3 separate regions of the Homo sapiens genome follow, and regions 2 and 3 are each linked to region 1. Evidence: promoter capture Hi-C in 16 types of primary human blood cells and fetal thymus (Javierre and others, 2016). All regions are on one chromosome and are shown on one strand. Each heading gives the region's core, a stretch centred on a gene start or on the middle of the fragment in contact. The rest is flanking DNA. Distances are from core to core; before and after follow the strand shown. Region 1 holds the start of HSD17B10 (hydroxysteroid 17-beta dehydrogenase 10). Region 2 has its middle 49 kb from the start of HSD17B10. Region 3 overlaps SMC1A (structural maintenance of chromosomes 1A).

Region 1 (4,462 bases), core at 274-2,773:
AAAAAAAAAATTGAGAGAGTAGGTCAAAGGTGAAAATATTAGGTAATATAGAGCAGTGTTGCAAAAACATTTTTCAAATCAATACCTTCTTGATAAATTCACATGCTCCTGAAGATTCTTAATTGCTGTGGATCAGAGCACTAATGCAACCCTGTTGTGAGGCTGGGTGCAGTGGCTCACACCTGTAATCCCAGCACTTTGGGAGGCCGAGGCGGGCGGATCACGTGAGATCAGGAGTTCAAGACCAGCCCGGCCAACATGGTGAAACCCCATCTCTTCTAAAAATACAAAAAAAAAAATTAGCTGGGCGTGGTGGCAGGTGCCTGTAATCCCAGCTACTTGGGAGGTTGAGGCAGGAAAATCGCTTGAACCCAGAAGATGGAGGTTGCAAGGAGCTGAGATTGTGCCACTGCACTCCAGCCTGGGCAACAGAGCGAGACTCCATCTCAAAAATAAAAATAAAAAATAACCCTCTTGTGAGAATTATTGATAGGAAGATAAACTAGCTTTTTTGTATCCTTACCTGCTAAGATGATTTCATCAAGTTTCACTTTCTGTAGTTTGTTTCATGAAAACAAGTTTTTTGACTTTGTAAATATAAAATTACAAGGCACAAAATGCATTTTCAAACCATACATAACTCCTCCAGGAGATTGTTACGTCCAATCCCCATCCTCATTGTTGTGAATCCCAGCTTTAGAGAATCCTTATCACAGGTGGTCCCACAGTGCTTGAAGGCTCAGGCCAAAAGAGACAAGGAGATGGGTCTACCGCCCCCATAGAGGAGACCCTTATGGGAGGGACCCCCACAGGTTCCCAGGCCGGTGTTGGTGACCTCATGCACACCCTGGGAGAGGAGAGGTGACCCCACTTACGTCGGCTGGGGCGAAAACGCAGTTGTTTCCTAACTTCTTGGCTTGGGCCTCCCCACCCGAGTTGGGCAGGTCCAGAAGCACAGCAGAGGCTCCCTGCCCCACAAGTCGCTCCGCCGTGGCCAGGCCCAGGCCCGAGGCTCCTCCGGTTATTACCGCCACCAGGCCCTGTCAAAAGGGACATGGTCAGGGTCAGCTGTTACATTGCCCAGACCATCCCCACGCTGTCGCCTGCCTGTTCTCCAGGCTTCTGAGGAGAAGGGGGGAGGGGAGAGGTCGTGGTCACCCCTGCGGGTAAACTAGGTGTGCTGCTTCTCCTCAGCGTTGGGACCTCGGGGGCAGAAGGGATCTCATCCCCAGACAGCCCGTCCCGTGACGATAGATAGATAGATGATTGATAGATAGATAGATAGACAGACAGACAGACAGACAGATGCGCCGCGGAGTGCTGACTTTCACCTCTTGAGCCCAACGGCCACAATACCAGGCCTACATAAGCATGACCCTTTCCCTCGAAACCGATCTCTTTCTCCTAGTTCCACGGCCGCGCTGTCCCGGCCCGTAAAGGAAGGCAAGCAACAGAGGCAAAGAACCTTCTACCTTCACGCTCCGACACGCTGCTGCCATCTTGTCGCCGGCCACTCCACGGGATGGGGATGGGGGCGCGGGCGCTCGTTGATTGGCCGAGGCGAAGCGGCGGAAGGGGCGGATGCGACGGGCCGGGGCGTCTGCCGCTGCCGCATGAGACGTGGGGGCGTGGCCTGGTACGCTAGTCCTTTGGCCAGAGGGCGGATTCCGCCTGCTAAGGTATCCCCAGAGTTATTTCAACTGGGGAAAGAGACCAATAGCAGAAGTACAATACCACAACACCCCTCGCCCTACTCTCTAGCTGGCCTTTTGGCAAGTGGCCTGCTCCGCGTGGGGGAAGAGGGGTGGATATTGAGAACGGATGCCTTTCTCCTCTGAAAAAGTCTTAATTCAAGTATGAATGTATTTGAGACTCCTATATGCTAGACGGTGTGCGGGGCACCTGGGATACCCAGCGGAATAATAAAAGATTCATGCCTTCCAGGAGGGCACAGTCCAGGTGGAGAAAGAGAATTACAGTACAGACACAGACGAATGGACGGAACCAGATTCTGGGACACTCAGACAAGGAGATCCAAAGATGAGGAGTCTGAGTTAGAGAGAGAGAGAGCCATGTAAAGAGAAATATGTTGAGGCCGAGATAGGAAGAGAGATGCCAGGTAGGATCACAGAGAGATGAATGTGGAAAGCCGCTAAGAGAGATGCTTGGAGACAGACATTCTAGGACAGCTGCTGAGAAGCACAAACCTAAAGAGGCAAAAACATCTTTCATCAGTTCAGGCTTTGCTACTCTCCTCTATCTTTGTCTAATTTAAGTCCAAAAGCCCAGATCACACACTGCAGATTGGACTTCAACCAGAGACTATTATTTAAGACCCAGGTCTTTGTCATCCTAGAACATCTTTCAGGCAGCTTCCAGAAGCTATGTCATTAGAGTCTTGAGCCCAGATATCTAATCTGTCTTCCTTCTATACTTTTCCTCAAACCAAGGTCTTCAGGCCATAAATCTTAGCCCACCATTTCAGCCTCAGAACTGCTTTATGTTTTCTCTATCTGAAATATCTCCCCCCACTTGCTTTCTCACCCAGGAAGATTCCCCTCCAGGCCTTCTAGTTGTTGACAGCCACCACACTCATAATCACTACACCGTATTTACCAAAGGATTTAGCACACCGGTCTCACAATTTTCCTATCTACATGAAGTGCTTCCATCAATTTATAGCACTCTTCATCCGGCCCAATATGCTGTAGCCACAGTGGCCTCCTTTGTGTTCATCTTTGCATTAGCTGCTCCCTCTGCTTGGAATGCTCTCCCCTGATCTTTGCATGACTGCTTTTATTTTTTTTCATTCAGAACTAAGCTTAAATATCACCTTCCCAGAGGGGTCCTCCCTAAATATTCAAACTGTAGCCACCTAGACACTATCCCATTGCATATTTGAATTATCTTCATAGCACTTGCATGTCCGTAATCCATTTTCCAACCTTAGGGCCAGATGTGCTGTGGAATTCAGAGTTTTTTTCAATTTGAGAAAGGAAGACATGTAATTTATATTACATAACTCTTTAAAAAAACTAGTCAAACATAACTTTTTGTATAGTCTATATTATATAACTATTGAGAAAAGCCTGGAGCATCGTAATGAAATATTAATATTTCTGAAGTGAAAGGTATGAAAATTCACACCAAGTGTGAATAAAGACTATAAATAGCCTCACACTACTTCAGGTCAGGTTTTGTCATCTATTGAGTTTGGGCTCCAAAGTATGAAAAAACAACCTTATGCTTTTCAGAAGTTTTGGCATTGCAGGATTGTGCCTACAGGCTTGTGAGCCTGCATGCTCCGCTAACCTGGCCTTGTTTGTGTAGTTCTCCCCCTGCTGGAAGGTAAGCCCCATGGCACCAGGGGCTTGTCCAGCTGGTTCACCTAATGCCGAGAACACTGCTTGGCGTGTACAAGACACTTAAAACAAATGTGTGAAATAAATGAATTAATGAATTAATCTTGGAAGAATTTCCAGGCACAGTTTCATGATTCTTTCACCTGCCCAACTCCGGGAACCTTCACCTCCTCTCTACTTTAACCACCTGTCCAGGCCACCTTATTGCACTTGTCATTCCCTGGAATAACCTCCTGCCCTCCCCAGCATCTACACACCATCTTTTCTCTCTCTGACCATGTTCTCGAGTTGTCTTGGATCTCTTCCCCTCTACCGCTTTTTTTTTTTTTTTTGAGATGGAGTCTCCCGCTGCCCAGGCTGGAGTGCAGTGGCGCATCTTGGCTCACTGCAACCTCCGCTTCCTGGGTGCAAGCAATTCTCCTGCCTCAGCTTCCAGAGTAGCTGAAATTACAGGCATGGGCCACCACGCCTGGCTAATTTTTGTATTTTTAGTAGAGATGGGATTTTACCATGTTGGCCAGTCTGGTGTTGAACTCCTGACCTCAGGTGATCCGCCCTGCCTCAGCCTCCCAAAGTGTTGGGATTACAGGCATGAGCCATCGCGCCCAGCCTCAGCTCTATTATTTACTAGCCGAATGACCCTGGACAAGTTACTTAACTGATGTGCCTCAGTTTCCTCTTCTGTAAAATGAGTATAAACAAATGACTATTCGTAGGGTTGTTAGGAATAAATGAGTTAACAACTATGTATTTAAAAAGGACTTGGAACAGTGCTTGGCCTTTAGCAAGAGCTATATAAGTGTTAGCTATGGTTACTCTTCAGAGCAGTGTTTCTCATCCTTTTCTATGCTACGGACACCTATGGGAGTCTGGTGAAGTCTTAGGAACCCCTTCCCAGAATAATGCATGCGTCCTATAAGTAGGATTACAAAAGAAACCAATTATATTGGGGTACAATTTTCAAAATAAAAGGAAACGCACCTGTAATGTAGTAATATATGTGCTTCTTTATTAACACATTAAATAGCAAGCTCTATCAACAGGTCTAGTGACAACCATGATTTTTGAAATAGTGATGTTATTTTGAGAGATATGCAACA
Region 2 (4,338 bases), core at 1,214-3,713, 49 kb after region 1:
CTAGACACTGCCGTGGGGCTGGAGCCCCACAACCTGCCCATCTGCATGCTCCCCCTAGAGGTTTGAGCAGTGGTGCACCAAAGAAGCGAGCCACACCCCGCTCTCACACCCTGCTAAGGGGATAGGGAACTTTTCCCGTTTCAATATTTACATCTGACGCCCAATAAAAAATTATCAAGCATGCAAAGAAACAGGAAAATACAACCCATAATGAGGGGAAAAATAATCCACAGAACATGACCCAGAAATGATCCAGATGATAGAATGAGTAGAAAAAGGACGTGAAAACAGCTGTTATAAATATATTCCATACATTCAAGAAGGTATAGGAGCGGGGAATGGTGGCATGTGCCTGTAGTCCTAGCTACTCGGGAGGCTGAGGCAGGGGGATCATGTGAGCCCAGGAGTTTGAGGCTGCAGTGAGCTGTGATCACAGCTCTGCTGTACTCCAGCCTGGGTGACAGAGTGAGACCCTGTCTCTCTCTCTTAAAAAAAAAAAAGGCATAGGAAAGCATGAGTATGACTGAAATCGAGCACCAAAGGAAGACCCTTCCCTGTTGTCCCTGCACCCACCTTAGTTCAGGGTTGAGATCAGTCCTTGGAGAGAATACGGCTGTGACTCTTTGAATGGCAGAATTTGCTGGAAATCTGCTTGCTGGAACTTGCCAGAAATCCACCATCTAGAGTGCCAGTGAAAGCTGTTCATGGGGAGGTGTCTCACTGGAGGCACTCTGCCACAAAACTACCTGAGGGAGAGTGCCAGGGGATGTTGCTGGCTACTGGGTGCTGTTGGCTGCCCTGCACTACAAAAGCTGGAAAATGGAGAAGCTGTGAGTCCTTCAGGAGCCAGAGGCAAACTGCTACTAACCCATCTGATGGGGAATTCCAGAGGGAGGCTGCTGGCTACTGGGTGCTGCTGGTCACCACACACTGTGGGAGCCAGGCACTGGAGAAGTTGTAGGACTCTGTTGCTATAGAAAGCTGCAGACACTGCAGTAACCTGCAAAGTGGGCACTCCAGCACCGGGAAGCAAAACCTTTTTCCTTCTTGAAATGTCTCTCCAGTGCCCTCTACTGGCAAAGCTTCAGTGCCAGGTGGCAAAGGAAACAAGTAAAGGGACCAGATCTGTTTTCACAGAGCAGGCAGAAGAGTGAATTTGAAGCTGAGAGGTAAAAATTGGTAAGTGGTACAGTCCACCCCTTTGACTTCTTGGCTTTCATGTGCACATATTTGAATTCTTGTACAACAAAACAGCTTGGGCGAGGTGGGAGGATCATTCGAGGCCAGGAGTTTGAGGTTATAGTGAGCTATGATCCCGCCATTGCACTCCAGCTTGGGTGACAGTGCAATACTCTGTCTCAAAAAAAAGAGAATAACACAACTTTACTCCTACCCAACAAGATATAGCTATCCTTCTTACAAGGGAGGAAGTTGTTACCCTTTCACCCAAATGAGAAGACACATCACTTTCTGTATTAATTACTCCTCAAATTTAGCCATGGTCCTGCTGATATCCTAGTACCTAAAGAGTAAATTGTAAAATTACCTTCCAACTTCTTGTATATAAAATAAAAATGGGAAAAAGAGAAAAAGAACATGGCTAGATTATGCAAATAAACACATACATATAACAAGCAGAAGGCAAATGAGGAAAGGTAATATAGTACTCATTTCTGTAATTGATCTCAAGGCTGTAATTGACATCTATGGCTTCCTTCTTCTGTTATTATCCATTCTGCATTTCCCCTGCCTTCATTCAGAACCTCAGATGCTCTTTTCTACCTGAAGGAGTCACCCAAACTTTCATTCTGGAAGGGTCTGAGTACTTGATCATCCTGCCTGTTTTGAGTTACTAGAGTTTAACCTTTTAATGGAGTTTAACCATTAATCTTTACTATGGGGGCCAGGCACGGTGGCTCACACCTGTAATCCCAGCACTTTGGGAGGCCAAGGCAGGCAGATCACCTAAGGTCAAGAGTTTGAGACCAACATGGCAAAACCCCGTTTCTACTAAAAATACAAAAATTAGCCAAGCGTGGTGGCATGCGCCTGTAGTCCCAGCTACTCAGGAGCCTGAGGCAGGATAATCACTTGAACCCGGGAGACGGAAGTTGCAGTGAGCCAAGATCGTGCCACTGTACTCCAGCCTGGGTGACAGAGTAAGGCTCCGTCTCAAAACAAAAAACAAAACAAACAACAACAACAACAATAACAAAACTTTACTATTAGGCATGGAAGTACTAAGAGGCACCCCAGATAATTCTCCGGGTTGCAAACATGGTCCTCTTTGCCTCCCTTGTGTAGCAACAGCTCAACTTCCACTTGGTAATTAGGATCAATCACTCGAGCCAGTAAATTAAGTCTTACCTCATCCCCTTTTTTGGCTTGTGGTTTCATTGGCATAAGGAGCCCAAAATGTCACACATTTTTCACTTTCCAATTCACTGGAATTATTGTTGTGTCCCCTGGAAGAAACAGTCTCCCTTTGAGGACTAAGATCTCCAAACTAGCAAAGCTCAAAATTGCTGAGACAGGAAGCAAAAATTCTGTGAGTAGGTTATTAGTTGTAATAATGAGAGGAGCTACTCCTACTTCTACCCCTTGGTTTCAGGACCCATTTATTCTGGCTATGGGAGAGATAGTGCTGTATAATAGTCTCTAGCTCAAAGTATATATTACATTCCAAAAAATAGTATACCATTGTTTCAAGATGTTATTTCCCAACTGGCATCAAAACCAAGTTTCAGTAAGCCATTTCACCCTTCAAGTAGGCCAGCTACTCTAACATGATGTGGTATGTGGTAAGACCAGTTAATTCCATAGGCATGAGTCCATTGCTGCACTTACTTTGCTGCGAACCAGAAGCAAAGCCGTGCAGAAGAGTCTACAGATGGTAGTGCTGGCACAAGGATTATGGGCAGAGTAGGGAAAACTATATCCAGAAAATACATCTGTTTCTGTGAGACTGAATCTCTGTCCCCCTCCATGATGGAAGACTTCCAATGTAATCAACCTGTCACCAGGTGGTTGGCTGGTCCCCATAGGGAATAGTGCCATATCAGGGACTCAATTTTGGTTGATGCTGTTGGCAGATTAGGCACTCAGCAACCATGCCACCCTTGGTAAGGGGAAGTCCATGTTGTTGAGCCCAGGCATAGTCTCTGTCCCTGCCCATGGCCTATTTCTTTATGGGCCCATTGAGCAAATACTGGAGTGGCTGGTGAAAGAGGCTGATGCACATCAACAGACCACATCATTTTGTCCCCTGGATTCATAACAGTCTCCTATGCAATGTATGCCTTTTGGTGGGCATTCACATAGGACTCAAATATCTTCAGTCTGTCCCCACTCAGAGAAGGCTGGTCACATTTCTCTTCCTCAGACTTCCTTGTCGCCAATCTTTCAATCTTGTTCTTTTCAAGTCCCTAACTACATGTCAGTGTAGATCTATACTTCTGACTATCTCTTACTCCACACATAGTGGACAACTAAACATACTGTTCAGTGTTCTGCCCACTGGAGAGGATCTTCCTTCACCATTGTCATCCAGTCACCCCTGAGTACAGTTGTAGTGCTGCATCTGTCTACTTTTGGATGGTACCAGTATAACATGCAGACCCATATATAAGGTAGGCTTCAGTTTTCCTTCCTCAGTCAAGTGGTCATAGGAACACTCTGTGATATCATAGGCATGGATTGAAGGAGAGGAGGCAAAGCAACAGGAGTTGGTGTCAAAAGAGTCTGAATTATCTGCTCATGCAACTTACTTGTACCTACTGGACCTGCTCAACTTAGTCTTTTATGTACCATTTTCATCCAATAATAGATTGCTGCTATGCATGCCTAAGCTTATGGCTATGTGGGTCAAAGAAGACACCAGTTCATGATGAGAGTCTCAGGCTGTATGGTCACCTAATATCTCATGGTTAGGTGTTTCAATCTCTGCCAAGGCCCAGCAGTAAGCCAGAGCTGTTTCTTGAAAGGAGAATAGTTTTCTGCGAAAGAGAGCACATACTTGCTCTAAAGTCCTAGAGGCTTACCCTGTGATTCTCTCATTGGTGCTTGCTAGAAACTCCATACAATATTCTTATTTGTCACAGACACTTCATGGGATCTGCTGGGTCAAGTGGAAGAGCAGCTTGTATTGCAGTCTGAATTGCAGAGCTTTCTCTTGTCTGGTTCTATTCAAAACTGGGAACCTTGGGTGATTCTATAGATGGATTTGAAGTAGCACACTCAGGCCAGGCATGGTGGCTCAAACCTGTAATTCCAGCACTTTGGGAGGCTGAGTTGGGTGGATCACTTGAGGTCAGGAGTTCAAGACTAGCCTGGCCAACA
Region 3 (4,401 bases), core at 1,538-4,037, 58 kb before region 1:
CTCTGTGTCTTGCTTCAACCCCACCAGGAAGACCTCTTGCCCTGCTTTCCTGTTATCTAAACTGCACACCAGTGTTAACCTTTTAGATTCCAAGGAACAAAGACACACACAGGTTAGTGATGGGGATTTATTAAAGCATTCACAGGGAAATAAGGAAGACAAGAACAGCTACACAGGCAGCCTCATGGAAGAACAGAAACTTGAAAATGGTTCATGATCCAAAGCAGCTCTAGAGCCTGGCTTATCTTGTCACCCCCTCAGCTGCAGGCATCTGTTGCTCCCTTCTCTAGTGCTTCCCAAATTGGTGACTCAACTCCTTTCTGGCTGTATTTATACTCCTCCTACTGCTACTGACTAACTTCTTTCTGCCCCCCTCGATGCTAGCCCATGGCTTTTTCTGCCTCATGGGTCCTGCAGCTTCATGGCTCCCGGCGCTTCAGTTCCTATTAATCCATGGCTTTTCTGCATTGTAGCTCCTGCTGCCTCTTCCATTCCTGTTGCCATGTTGCCACATGGTTCTGGCTACCTTGTGGTTCTTGCAGTCTCATCGCTTCTACTGTCTCATGATCTTATCTATTCAAGCCTTCTGCTGCTTTGTGGATCTCATAGTCAGTTTTGTCTCACGGTTTCTGTTCCTCGTGGCTCCTATTGCTTCATGGCTTCTAGCCCATTGTTGCCTTGCTGCTTCATGGCTTCTGCCACCCTGTGGCTCCGTGATCTCATTATACAAATGTCTCATGACCTCTGCTTACTTATGGTTTCTGCAGCTTTCTCTTTGCTTTTGCTGTTTAGTTTCTGGCCACCCCTCATCCACCACCACTAATGCCTCATTAAATTCTAATTAACGTTCACTTCTTCTGAATAGCTCACATTCTGCCTCCCTGAAAGATCTGGTTGTTTCATACATTTGCCATTTGATACATGCCACCCCTGTAAGGTGAAGTCCTTATGCCAGTCCAGCTAACAGGCCACTGGCCAGCCTAGAGATTGGTTGCCCTTGAACCAGACACTATCCACATCTAGCTATCTGTGGCCAGGATTGTGAGGTCACATGGTACAGAGCATGGCAACTTATGCTAAGGAAACCCCTTAGAAGGGACTGCAAGCATGGCAGGTTTGCTAAGGGTTTCCAGAAGGGGGCAGTGTAATTGGCAACCATCTTGTTTGACCTGTCCAATACATTGACCTTCAAGGTTCAACCTAAGTCCCACCTTCTCCCTGACCACCTCTGCCTGTCCTGATCTACAATGGGATAGATCAAGATCAAGACTCCAGAGATGACATAGAAAGGAAACCTAGCTTCCATTTCTGGCTCCAACACTTCCTAGCAGTCGGACCTTAGGAAGTTAATTCCCCTCTGAGGACCTCAGAAGGGGTTTGGGCAGTCTTCCCTTACAAGTCTGACATTCTGGGTATCTCACTATAAGTTATTGTATAAGAGATGTGACTCTTACCTGGGAAAGCCCTCAAAAACATCTCTTGAGGTAGGAAAGAGGGAGTCAGAGTCCTGGCTTGGAAGAGCCTTACTGCACACTGGAGGTGCTTAGCCAAGATTTATTGAACTGGATGAATGAATCAATGGCTTGTGGAGGGGTGGGGAGTGGGGGGGCAGTGAGAGACCACACAGCACACAGAATGTCTAACTAACTTGAGGAATTCCAGTTGCTGAGGAGGATGTAAGCAGATTGTTTCAGAGATGGATAAGGAAAGAGATGACTGGGACAGGGTAGGAATCATGGCTATTCATGGGTACTCATTCTATCCTCTCAGTCACCCTCCACATCCAATAATCAGTCATTAAGTTATCATCTTACCTTAACAGTTCACACCTTAACACCTCCAATCTATTCCTACTGGCCTTTGCCCTAGTGCAGGCCTCCTGGTCTTTTTCCAGTCTCCTAGCTAATCTTGTCATCTCCATTCGCTCTCTCACAAATGGATTCACTCATGCATTCATTCATTCAAAAACTTTACTGGGTGCCTGTTTTGTGTCAGGCACTGTGCTTTTTTGCAGGGGCTATACTGGTAAGCAAAATATCCCCAGGCCCACCCTTGTGGTGCCTAAAGCTTATTCAGAGACAAAATAAGCAAATATAGTAGTGTAAGAAGCTGATTAACAGGGAAGCTACAGGCACGGGCACATACAGCATGAACATCTAACCTAATCTGTTTTCCATGCTGGTTGGCTAGCCAGCCAGAAACAGGTTAAGTTCACATCTGATCTGGAGTCCCCCTATTAAAAACCATTTCATGGCTCCCTCACTGCCTTCAAGCTATGGTTTCCAAATCTGGCTGTACCCTAGTCATGTGGTAACCTTTATAAGCATTCAAGATTCCAAATCTTCACCCCAGACTTAATGAATGTTTTAGGGGCCGGGGCCCAGAATGCCGTACCTGTTTGTGGTATACAGCCAGTTTGGGAACCACACTGTCCTACAAAACAAATCTGAATTCTGTAGCCATGCATTTACGACCCTCTTCCAATCTGGTTCCTCTCTACCTTTTCTTGCTGCTTTCCCCCCACCCCAGGAATCTTCATGCTTCAGTATTTGTTTTGCTGTTTCTTGCCTTCATGTCTTCATGCATACTGTTTCCAATATCTGGAAATTCCTTCTACTTCCTCAACTGGCTAATTCCTACCCGTCCCTCAAGACTCAGTTCAGGTATCACCACCTAGACTACAGGATGCCTTCTCTGAATCTTCACATAAGCTAGATGTTTTTCCTGTGCTCCTGTCAGTGTTGATCACACTGTATGGTTAATGGCTGTTTTACAAATGGTTTCCCCAACTAAACAGTGAGCTCCTCAAAGGCAGGATAAAGATTTGACTCATCTTTGTGTTCCTGGTGCACAACACTGTGATTTCCAGAGGGAAGTGCCCAGTTAAACTTAAGATACTGTTGTGGAGTACTCTTCAACTCCCTACAGCAAGGCTACTGCGTCCACAGTATAAGGGAGTCAAACTAGTTCCTCCAACAAGCCCTAGGGAATCTACTCGGATCCAGCTTGCTCTTGGAAACACTGTGGTGCCCAGCCTCCCGTGAGCATAGCCTTGACAACGGTTGCCCTGTGATGCCAGGAGGTGGTGGGGCACGACAGGAGAGAGCAGGGGGCAAGCACTAAATAGATCCGAGTGGAAGTCTAGGCTCTGCCACTAAACCAGTGGAATCTTGGACAAGTCACCTCACCTCCTGGATCCTCAGGACTTAAGTCCCCAAAGCTCCTTTGTAGCACATGTGTTCCTGTGTGCCAGGGCCTTAGCCTAAGGCATCTCATGTAATCCTTTTTATCCTGTGAGGTAGGGGTTAGTTATCTGGGTTATTATCCATGCTGGCTGAATCAGATTTCCAGAGGTGGGACCAGAGCAATTTATTTTTAAAGAGCTCCACATCCTTTGGATGTGGGGGTGCAAGCAGGGAACTGCTGCTTCTCATTATAAGCCCTTCTGTACTATTTTATTTTTTTACCTGTGTATATATTGCTTTACTTTTTAAAAAGGAAAAAGAAAAAGCTTTACAAACGATTCTGATGCGCAGCCAAGGTTGATAACCACCTGTACAGTGGAGAAAGCACTTGAATGACTTGGAAGACCTGGGTTCAAACCTTTTTGGGCCTCAGTTTCCTTATCTGTAAAGTGGGGAGAACAGCAAAGGTGACCTTTAAAGGGCTGTGAATGATCTAGATGCCAGCCAAATTGCTTCATATATATTTAATTTTCTCTTTGCTTCACTACTGCAAGGTAGGTGTTTATTATCTCCTTTTACAGATGTGGAAACTTAGGCTCAGAGGTGAAGTAACTTGCACAAGTTTCTACAGCTAGAATTTGAACCAGGTCTGACCCCCGAATTGTGCTCGTCCATAAAGGCCAGCATTTGCCAAATTATGGCACACAGTACCACCAGTGGTACGTGACTTCTTTGGTTGAAAACAGACAAATTTATTTTGTTTTGATAGTTATGTCTTTTAATATGTATTAGAAGAATACATAATTAGCACACATCAAACCTGTGATTTCACAGATATCACTACTTGGGATGAAAATGATATAGGATAACAATGTTAGACCTCAGATCAACCTCAAGAAAAATACTGAGTAAATAGTACAGGAGGGCAATTTGGAAGTATTATTAAAAACCAATATATAAATATCCTATGACTTTGCAATTCCACTTCTAGGAATCAACCCTAGGTAAACTTTCATACATATACTTTCACACAGGCATAGTGATGCTCCTGTGTAGTATTTTGTAATAGCAAAACCTAAAAACAGTCTTAATGTCCATCACAAAAGAAATGCGTAAGTAAAATGTGGTAATCATATGATGACAATCTATACAGCAATTACAGAAGATGGATTGAGCTACATTAAGTAACATGCACAGATCTCAAAAACATCGTTAA

The links. The method cuts DNA at HindIII sites, captures the fragments that hold promoters and counts their contacts. A CHiCAGO score of 5 or more calls a contact.
Region 2: a fragment that was not itself captured here is called in contact with the fragment with the promoter of HSD17B10 in region 1 in 1 of 17 cell types (M2 macrophages); the score reaches 5.7 in M2 macrophages.
Region 3: a contact is called between a fragment that was not itself captured here and the fragment with the promoter of HSD17B10 in region 1, in 1 of 17 cell types (monocytes). The highest score is 5.5, in monocytes.

Annotation. Positions count from the first base shown.
Region 1 is chrX:53,432,847-53,437,308 of GRCh38, forward strand. HSD17B10 (hydroxysteroid 17-beta dehydrogenase 10) reads right to left here and starts at 1,524. Exons shown (of 6, transcript NM_004493.3): 1 at 1,473-1,524; 2 at 876-1,040. The coding sequence starts at 1,499. The HindIII fragment of the contact is 11,572 bases long and covers 1-2,819 here.
Region 2 is chrX:53,481,224-53,485,561 of GRCh38, forward strand. No RefSeq gene overlaps it. Among named protein-coding and RNA genes, the nearest start is that of HSD17B10, 49 kb to the left of the region's middle. The HindIII fragment of the contact is 2,766 bases long and covers 1,081-3,846 here.
Region 3 is chrX:53,374,036-53,378,436 of GRCh38, forward strand. SMC1A (structural maintenance of chromosomes 1A) reads right to left here. Exons shown (of 25, transcript NM_006306.4): 25 at 114-4,401. Among named protein-coding and RNA genes, the nearest start is that of MIR6857, 30 kb to the right of the region's middle. The HindIII fragment of the contact is 1,444 bases long and covers 2,066-3,509 here.